Regions from separate parts of the Homo sapiens genome. Here region 1 is linked to region 2. The links are contacts of gene promoters, found by promoter capture Hi-C in blood cells and fetal thymus (Javierre and others, 2016). All regions are on one chromosome and are shown on one strand. Each heading gives the region's core, a stretch centred on a gene start or on the middle of the fragment in contact. The rest is flanking DNA. Distances are from core to core; before and after follow the strand shown.

Region 1 (4,752 bases), core at 1,121-3,620, 240 kb after region 2:
TTTGGGCCTGAGCGACTGCACGTGGTCACCAACTTTTACTGAACATCCAGGGTCTGGCCGTAGCTCAGTGCAGGACGCACAGCAACAACAGATGAGAATGAATAAAATCTACATTGTGTCAAAGTAGAACAGCATTTACCCGCAGGTGGGGTAGAGGCAAGAGGAAGGTACTGTATGACGGATACAGTTTCCCTTTGGGATGATGGAAAAGTTGTGATCGCAGAACTTCATGCGCCACAGAAGGGCATTTTGGTCAGGGATGGACCACAGATAACCACTGTGGTCCCGTAGATTAGAACGCAGCCGGGAAATTCCTGTCACCTGGTGGCGTGACAGGAATAGCCATCGCCATCCTAGCCATCGCCATCCTAGCCATCGCCACATCCTAGCACAACTTTAAAAAATCAGTTTAGTGTAGGCCACGCCAAGTGTTTATAAAGTCTGCAGCAGTGCACAGTTCTGTCCTCAGCCTTCATGTTCCCTCAGCACTCGCTCACCCAGGGCAACCTGCAGTGCAGCAAGCTCTGTGCATGGCAGGGGCCCTACCCAGGCATGCCGTTATCTTGTATACCCTATTTTTACAGCACCCTTTCTATGTTTAGACACACAAACACTTCCCATGGTGCCACAGCTGCCTGCAGTGCTCAGCACCGTAACTAACACTGGCAGGTTTGTGCTGGGCCTATAACCGGCTGCACTTTCTAGTTTTGTGACGGGCGCTCCATGACGCTCCCAGAGCAACAGAATCGCCTAGCGATGCGTTTCTTGGAACCTATCCCTGTCATCAAGCAACGCGTGACTTTAATGCCAGTGAAATGTACATTTGAAAATGGTTAAAATGGTAAGGTTTACATTATGTATGTTCTACCACAATGATAAAAGTTAACGTATTATCGAGCTGTGTTCACTCCCGGCTCTCGCAGATCTCTCAGCGACGGAGAGGAGGGACCAGGGTCAGGAGAAGAGGCCACACCCGCCCTGCCCAGGAAGCCCTCCAGCCAGGGGGGCAGGCAGCGTCTCCCACTGCGCCACCCACACACGGCATCTGCGACATTTTTCAGGGCCTCCCACCCTGCGGCTTGCTGTCTTTCGTCCTCCTCTGTCCACTCACGCCCTCCCACGTTCATTTCCAGGCTTCATCCTGGAGGAACCTCCCCACGGGCAGCACCTGCTAGGACACCTCCATTTCTTCTTTCCTTTAATTAAGAGACAGGGTCTGGCTCTGTCGTCCAGGCTGGAGGGCAGCAGTGCAATCACGGCTCACTGCAGCCTGGACATCTTGGGCTCAAGCCATCCTCCCGCCTCAGCCTCCCAAGTAGCTGAAGTACAGGCACAGGCAACACCACACCCAACTCCAAATATCCTTCCTTGACTTGGGCCACAGCCTGGGGAAAAGAGCAGAGGCCAAATCCCCACAATTATTATTAATATCACATGCCCAGCACCATGAATGGTGGCCAGTATTCAGCAAACATTTAATTTATTATTTACAAATATGGAAGACACATAAGGGACAACCATTCAGGTGGTGACGTCCAGCTTCAACAGAGCTAAGCTCAGAGCCCCTTTGCAGTGAGTAATAGGCAGGACCCAAGGGGAGACCCTGTATCATGAGGTGTAAGAAAAAACATCAGCCAGGCGCGGTGGCTCACACCTGGAATCCCAGCACTTTGGGAGGCTGAGGTGGGTGGATCACCTGAAGTCAGGAGTTCGAGACCATCCTGGCCAACATGGTGAAACCCTGTCTCTACTGAAAATACACAAATTATCTGGGCGTGGTGGCACGTGCCTGTAATCCCCAGCTAATCGGAGGCTGTGGCAGGAGAATCACTTGAATCCGGGAGACAGAGGTTGCAGTGAGCCGAGATCACGTCACTGCACTCCAGCCTGGGCAACACGGTGAGACTGTCTCTTTTTTTTTTTTTTTTGAGATGGAGTTTCGCTCTTGTTGCCCAGGTTGGAGTGCAATGGCGCGATCTCGGCTCACCACAACCTCCGCCTCCCAGGTTCAAGCGATTCTCCTGCCTCAGCCTCCCAAGTAGCTGGGATTACAGGCTACTTTTCTGTATTTTTAGTAGAGACGGGGTTCTCCATGTTGGTCAGGCTGGTCTTGAACTCCCGACCTCAGGTGATCCACCCACCTCAGCCTCTCAAAGTGCTGGGATTACAGGCGTGAGCCACCACACCTGGCTGAGACTGTCTCAAAAAAAAAAAGAAAAAGAGAAAAGAGAGGAAACAAACATCGCCTGTTGGCTTCAACAGCAGAACCCACAGGTGTCAGCAGACACAAAATCCACTTGCCGGGAAAGGCTGCTTCTTGGCTGTAACCTCTCAGGTCCCCAGGTCAAGGCAAGCTGAGCCACCAAGGACAAAGTACATTCACATGGTGTTTCCATTCAACATTCACTATAGCAACAGTGACCAAAGGCAGAAGTCCAGGATGAAAAGCCTGGAGCTGAAGGCCACCCTGGCAAGCGGCCAGTCGAGTTACCCCAGTCAGGGCTCATGGGAGGGTCCCACAGGCCAGGGGAAGCCGACCCTGCAGGCCACGCCCTCACCAGGGCTGAGGGGTCCCCTCCCGGTGTCACCCACCCCCCGGCTCACGTCCCTGTGGCTTCAGAGGGGCCCAGCCCAGGCAGCCCCCGTGTGTGGGTGACACCAGTGCCGTGCTGATGGGGACAGATACACAGGGTCTCCAAGGGCCCTGGTGATGCCCTGCCCTTTGAGATGCATTGGCTGCATTCCCAGCGGTCACGACAACCTCCTGTAAGAGGAAGTGACCCTAGAAAGCCACCAGTGTGAGCCTGGACATGCGTCACTGCCTCCGCACAGCACGCGGCCGTGAGGCCTGGACACACTGGGGCAGCTGAGCCCCCGTAACGAGTGAAAGGCTTACTTGAGTCTCGGCTGCTGAACGGCCACCCCGACGTCGGCAGGAAGGACGGCACCGGGGAGCTGGCCCGGCTGTCATCTTCCACCTGCTGTGTGATGTGCCGGACGGTCTCTTTGTTTTTCCGATTCTTCCTTCGGCCCGTGGGCTGCCAGGCATCACCAGCACTCTGCTCTGAGAAAGAGTTCTGTACTGCACCGTCCTTGGCAGAAGGCAGCTCGCTCCCTCCGTACTGAGACGGTGAAACCTGCTCTTCCTTGATGCGCAGAGGCCCGTAGCCCACGTCTCCAGGCCATAGAGGCTGTGAAGAAACATCATCAGGGCCATCGGCCTTGGGCTCCTGATCCTCTTTCCCGTAGCTGCTCCCTCCGTCGTGACAGCTGGCGATGGCCGAGTCTCCGGAAGAATTGGCAGGACTCGTTCGCCGTGCCAGCCACGGGGAGATGCTCCTCCCAGCCATCACGGCCGAGATGAGAGCTTCCGTGCTGCTGCTGGACGAGGCGCCGATCTCGAACTCCGCAAGCTCATCTGAGGCGTCCGACTTGATGCTGATGTCCAGCGCCGCCTTGATGAAGTCGTGGCAGGCTTGCACGATGTCCGTCATCTGCAGGAAGCTGGCGGCTGACATCACCTCGATGACGTTCCTGCTGGTGAGCGCCAGGTGCGCTGAGTACATGAAGTCGATGATGGCCTTGAAGCCCTGGGCCGTGACGATGTCCAGGTGCGTGACCGTGGCCTGCTCCGACGTCTTCTGCACCTGGCAGTAGAGCGTCTTGAAGTAGCGGCTGCTGCCCAGCAGGACGTTCTTGTGCGCCTTGAAGACCTTGCCCTCCACGACCACGCAGACGTCGCACAGGACGCCGTGCTGCCTCTGCTCGTTGAGCTCCCGCAGCAGGTGCCGGTAGTGGGACGTGATTTCCATATCTTCCTTTCGGTTGTTCATTTGGAAGCCCTGGTGTCGCCTCTTCTACAGACTCTGTGGAGGTAAGAACAAGAGTTACCCAAGCTCAGCACAGACAGAGGCCGTGAGAGGACGCCGGGCGGGGCGCAGGAGGGCCATGGGGCACAGAGTGCGGCCAGTGGGAGGACGACCCACGCGAGAGCCCATCCACAGGTGTGCAGCGGGAGGCCTGTGTCTCCGCCTGAAGCAGGGCAGCAAACACCGGAGGGCACCAGTGCGTCCAGGGTGGGACGTCTGCCACGTGTTTCCGTGCTCGAGGCTAATGGGGTTCTGAACAGAATCCCACATACGGCAACTGGCATATCCCAGGAACGATGAGAACACCCAGCCGTGGCTGAGCAACTCTTACCCAAACTGAGAACTCGGTTAAATGACCTACACTGTGGCCATCCCTCACGCTTGAAGAAACATTCTTAAGGAAAAAGAATAAAACTTCCAGGCTGGGCGCGGTGGCTCATGCCTGTAATCCCAGCAATCTGGGAGGCCGAGGAGGGTGGAGCACAAGGTCAGGAGATCGAGACCATCCTGGCCAACATGGTGAAACCCTGTCTCTACTAAAAATACAAAAAAAGCAGCTGGGCATGGTGGCGGGAGCCTGTAGTCCCAGCTATTCAGGAGGCTGAGGCAGGAGAATGGCGTGAACCCGGGAGGCGGAGCCTGCAGTGAGCCGAGATCGCGCCAGTGCACTCCAGCCTGGGCGACAGGGCGAGACTCCATCTCAAAAAAAAAAAAAAAAAAAAAAAACTTCTTACACAAAAAACCACAGAATAAGGAATTAAAGCATTCATAGCCTTAGTCCTGAAAATTTCCAAAACTCTGAGCTCAAACGAGCTGAAGTCTTCTGGAGGAGGGAGGCTTCCTGGCTTAGGCCTGGGTCCCTGCCCAGCACTGGGACAGGGCA
Region 2 (4,284 bases), core at 275-2,774:
CAGGTGTGGGGTGAGGGCCTGGGGCCCCTCAGAAGGCCCCTTCCTGTGACTCCGGCTTCACCCGCCCATGCAACCCCCAGGACGATGTGTGAGTGCCAAAGGGCCCCCAGGAGGCTGGAAGTGGCCCTGAGCAAGGCTGACCCCGAAGGTCTCCAGGGCTCAGGCCTTGCCCAGCTGGATGCCAGACCAAGGCAGCCGCTCAGAGCAGCCGCACTGGGCATCTGGACTAGGCGCCTCTGCAACCCCTGCTCACCTGCCCTCACCCAGAGCTCCTGGAGCGTGGGCCCCTGTCTCAGCCCCCAGTCCCAGCCCCTGCTCACCTGCCTTCACCCAGAGCTCCTGGAGCGTGGGCCCGTCTCAGCCCCCAGCCCCTGCTCACCTGCCCTCACCCAGAGTTCCTGGAGCATGGGCCCCTGTCTCAGCCCCCAGCCCCCAGCCCCTGCTCACCTGCCGTCACCCAGAGCTCCTGGAGCTCCTGTCATCTGGTGCCTCCCAGCCCCCAGCCCCTGCCCTCCAAGCAGTGACCGATCCATGAACACTGGACTCCCTGTGTGAGGGCGGGAGGGCCTGGCCAGCCAGGCAGGGTCCTGGAGGAACCGCCTGCTGGGTGTCCAGCTGGTGCAGCTGATGCTCCCCCCCACAGGACCTGACCACGCCTGCCGGAGCCTCCTCTCCCTCTCGGCAGCCCACAGCGGACACTGCTGTTTTCCTACCACACCTGCCGGCCCGGGGCCCATCAGCTGTCCCTGAATGAATGCGTGGATGAACGAATGAATGAACAGATAGCCACGGACATGCGATTTCCAACTCAAAATCCTGCCGTTGTTCTGGACTCCCCAGCTGGGGGCGAGGCAGGCTCTGACTCCGAGGCCGAGGTACTCACGGTTGGTCTGAGAGCGTCTCAGGAGAAGCCTTGGCCACGTGGGTGATGGGCACGAGCCCGGCGCTGGGCTGGCCCGAAAGCCTGCGTGCGAAGATGTAGCCGCCCCCCTCTTCGAGGGCACAGAGCCTGTCCCCGCGGCGGACACTCAGCTCCCCGCCACACCGCGCCGTGAAGTCATAGAGCGCAAGGAAGAGCTGAGGGAAGGGGCTGCAAGGCTCGGCGGGGAGCGTGGGCACTGGGTCAGTGTTGGGGTCCAGGGACCCGGGGGTGCCATGGTCCGGCTCGCCGCCCGCCGGCCAGATCTTGTCCCAGAAGAAGGACAGGAAGGCCAGCCGCCTCCTGAGGAACGGCTCCATCCCCCGGGGTCACCACGCTGGGCCCGAGGGCCATGGGAGCCCGCGAGCCCGGAAGAGGAACTGGCAGGGCCGGTGGGACCCGGTGTCCAGCGCTCCCTGCCCTGGCCGTGGGGTGACAGGGGACCCCGGCCCTGCGGTCACTCAGAGGTCCCCTGGATCCAGGAGGCACACGGTTCCCACCGGCGTCCGGGCTGGCGTTGGGGCTGGGTGGGGCGCAGGGCGGACCCCCTGCCTCAGGCACACCGACAGCACCTCCTGTCCTCGACCTCCTTGGCGTCTGGAGTGCACCGTCCCCTCCCCAACCCGACGGCAGAGGGCAGCTTGGGCTGGGGCGGGGGCGGGCTCCAGGAGGGGCCCGAGGAGGGCGGGGTGGGCAGGGCCAGCCTCTCTCCCGCCCTCTGCAAGGCCCAGGCAGGCGGAATGGCTCTGCCCAGTCAGGCCTGGCCCATGCCCAAGGGCACCACAGTCCAACAGCCGCCCGTGCCCACGGAGAAGTGGGGGTTCCACGGAGAAGCGCTGCTGTTCAGCACCTGCAGTGGTTGCCAAGCCTGAGCTGCACTCAGGTGAAAAATTGCCTGCTTATTTAAGTGTTGGCCAGATATTTTAACATCATTAACCCTGCACCAGGTGCCGAGCCTCCGGCCTCTGCAGTAAATTCTGAGGACAGGCGAGTGAGGGGGCTCTCAGCACCCCGGCTTTCATGCAGTAAAACGAGATGCTGATTGCAGGGAGCTCGGCCGCAGGCCAGGCACCCAGATGCCCCATGCTGCCCGATGACCGGCTTCTGAGTCAGTCAATGCCCAGGCCATACCCAAAGGCCACTGCGGGGAAGTGGAGGCTGCGGACGCCTGGCCCCAGTTCAGGGGGATGAGCACACGGAGAAGGGGCGGCGGGTGAGTCCCTGGCTGGGGACCTCCCACCCTCTCCCTGGACAGCGCCAAGCCCCCGCATGCTGAAGCAAACTCTGCCCGCTCAGGTAGGTCCCCAGATCGGGGCAGGACTGGGGGAGCAAATCCCAGCAAAACCCAGCAGCACGGTACAGGGTCCTGAGGCAGGAGGATGGGGTGGTGGCCATCTGCAGTCTCTCTCTCCTCCCACATCCCCTCCGGGTCCTGAGTGGGGTGGGGTGGGGGCCATCTGCAGTCTCTCACTCCTCCCACCTCCCCTCTGGGTCCTGAGGCACGGGGGTGGGGTGAGGCCATCTGCAGTCTCTCACTCCTCCTGCCGGCCTCCCCCAGCAGCCCCTTCCGCACCTGGGTGGCCTTCAGGGAGCCTCACGCCCCTTTCCCACATCTCACACGCATCCATGCCCCCACTTCATGCGTGTGGCTGAATGCATCCCTCCAATAGGCGTGACCAGTGTCCAGCCAATGACAAGCCCCTCGCACCTGCCTGCCCTGGAGTCACAGATGGGCTTCTCAGAAACCTCACGTCTGGGGACTGGTGTGTGCATTGTGGGGTGGCAGTGACACCCGTGGCCTGGCTCTCAGGGCACCCCAGCAGCCAAGCTGTGTCCGGGCTGATAGCCTGGAGCCAGCAGGGGCCCTGGGAGACTGGACATCGCCAGGCTCAGGGCAGGCTCTGCACCAGAGAGGTGCCCTGCTGGGGGTGGTGGGGGGTGTTGAGAAATGTGGAGAATTGTAAATACTACATTGGGGGTGGCCTTCGAGGGGCCCCAGCGCCTTCTCCTCCCGCGCTTCCCCCCGCCGCCCTCTCCTCCCGCCCCCGCCGCCCTCTCCTCCCCCCACCCGCTGCCCGTCTCCTCCCGCCCCCGACGCCGTCTCCTCCCCACAACCCACCCCCGCCGTCTCCTCCCCTCCACTCCCCCCGCCGCCGTCTCCTCCCCACACCCACCGCCGTCTCCTCACGTGCAGGTGAGGCTTTTGCCCACCATTTCTTTTCTTTACTTTTTTTTTGGAAACAGGGTCTCACTCTGTCGCCCAGGCTGGAGTGCAGTGGCAGCCTCGATCTCCTGGGCTCAAGCCGTCCTCCTGCCGGACTACAGGTGTGCGCCACCATGCCCAGATAAATTTTTTATTATTTGTAGAGATGGGCTCTCACTATGTTGCCCAGGCCGGTTTTGAACTCTTGGCCTCAAGCGATCCTCCTGCCTCCCAAAGTGCTGGGACTACAGGTGTGGCTACCAGCTCTCCCAAATCCTCCCTAGGACGTGACTCTTCCCCGCTAGAACGCCAAGGCCGCAGAGCCCCAGGGAGGCCTCCTCAGGCCATGGAAAGCTCCTGTGCCCACCACACCAGGGTCAGATGTTCAGGGCACTGAATGCAGATTCCTCCCAGACACTCCCTGCCCCTTAGAGCCACGGGATCATGGCACAGGACTCAGCACATTCCATGCCCAGCTGGAACCAGAGGCAGGCCTGGCCATCAGGGTTAGGGCCCCATTGGGCCTCTGCCCCGGCGTGTCTCACCCCCACCGCCCCACCTGCCCACAGATCAGCTCCCCACGTCTGCCCCATCTTCCCCCTCCTTGCACCTGCTGCCCTTGCACCGCACACATGCCAGGGTGAGTGTGGTCGGCAGGCAGCCGAGGCCGGCTTTATCCAGCTCCTCCCCGGTGGTCCTCAGAATCCCCGGCCCCGCATGCCCAGCTGCCCTGTCCCGCTGCCCTCCAAGTTGTGCCCGCCCGTCCACCCCTTCCTCACCTCACCCACCAGGCGCAACACAGCCCAGCATAGGGCCCCTGCCAGGTGTCGGTGTCAGCAGCCCCTTCCCTGCCTGCTGTGCCCCCCCCACATGACCTCACCTCCTCCCTCAGCCCTAACCGGGTGGGTGGCACAGAGGGGAGTGAGGAAAGGGGCCTGGGTACAGGATCAGTCTGGACGGGGTCAGGAGTCTGGGGCTTGGCCGGGTGAGGCGGCTCACTCCTGTAATACCAGCATCTGGGGAGGCCAAGCAGGAGGATCGCTTAAGCCCAAGGGTTCAAGACCAGCCTGGGCAACATAGTGAGACCCCCATCTCTATTTTTTTAAAAAAAGAAAAGGCTAGGCACGGTGGCTGACACCAGTAATCCCAGCACTTTGGGAGG

What was found. Contacts are between HindIII fragments. The CHiCAGO score rates a contact against its expected background, and 5 or more counts as called.
Region 1: a contact is called between a fragment that was not itself captured here and the fragment with the promoter of SRMS in region 2, in 11 of 17 cell types (activated CD4 T cells, non-activated CD4 T cells, total CD8 T cells and 8 more). The highest score is 12.1, in activated CD4 T cells.

Annotation. Positions count from the first base shown.
Region 1 is chr20:63,786,925-63,791,676 of GRCh38, forward strand. ZBTB46 (zinc finger and BTB domain containing 46) reads right to left here. Exons shown (of 5, transcript NM_001369741.1): 2 at 2,897-3,866. The coding sequence starts at 3,833. Among named protein-coding and RNA genes, the nearest start is that of ZBTB46-AS1, 19 kb to the right of the region's middle. The HindIII fragment of the contact is 7,196 bases long and covers 1-4,752 here.
Region 2 is chr20:63,546,225-63,550,508 of GRCh38, forward strand. It overlaps SRMS (src-related kinase lacking C-terminal regulatory tyrosine and N-terminal myristylation sites), which reads right to left and starts at 1,525. Exons shown (of 8, transcript NM_080823.4): 1 at 884-1,525. The coding sequence starts at 1,239. RefSeq lists an enhancer at 598-1,239. The HindIII fragment of the contact is 15,344 bases long and covers 1-4,284 here.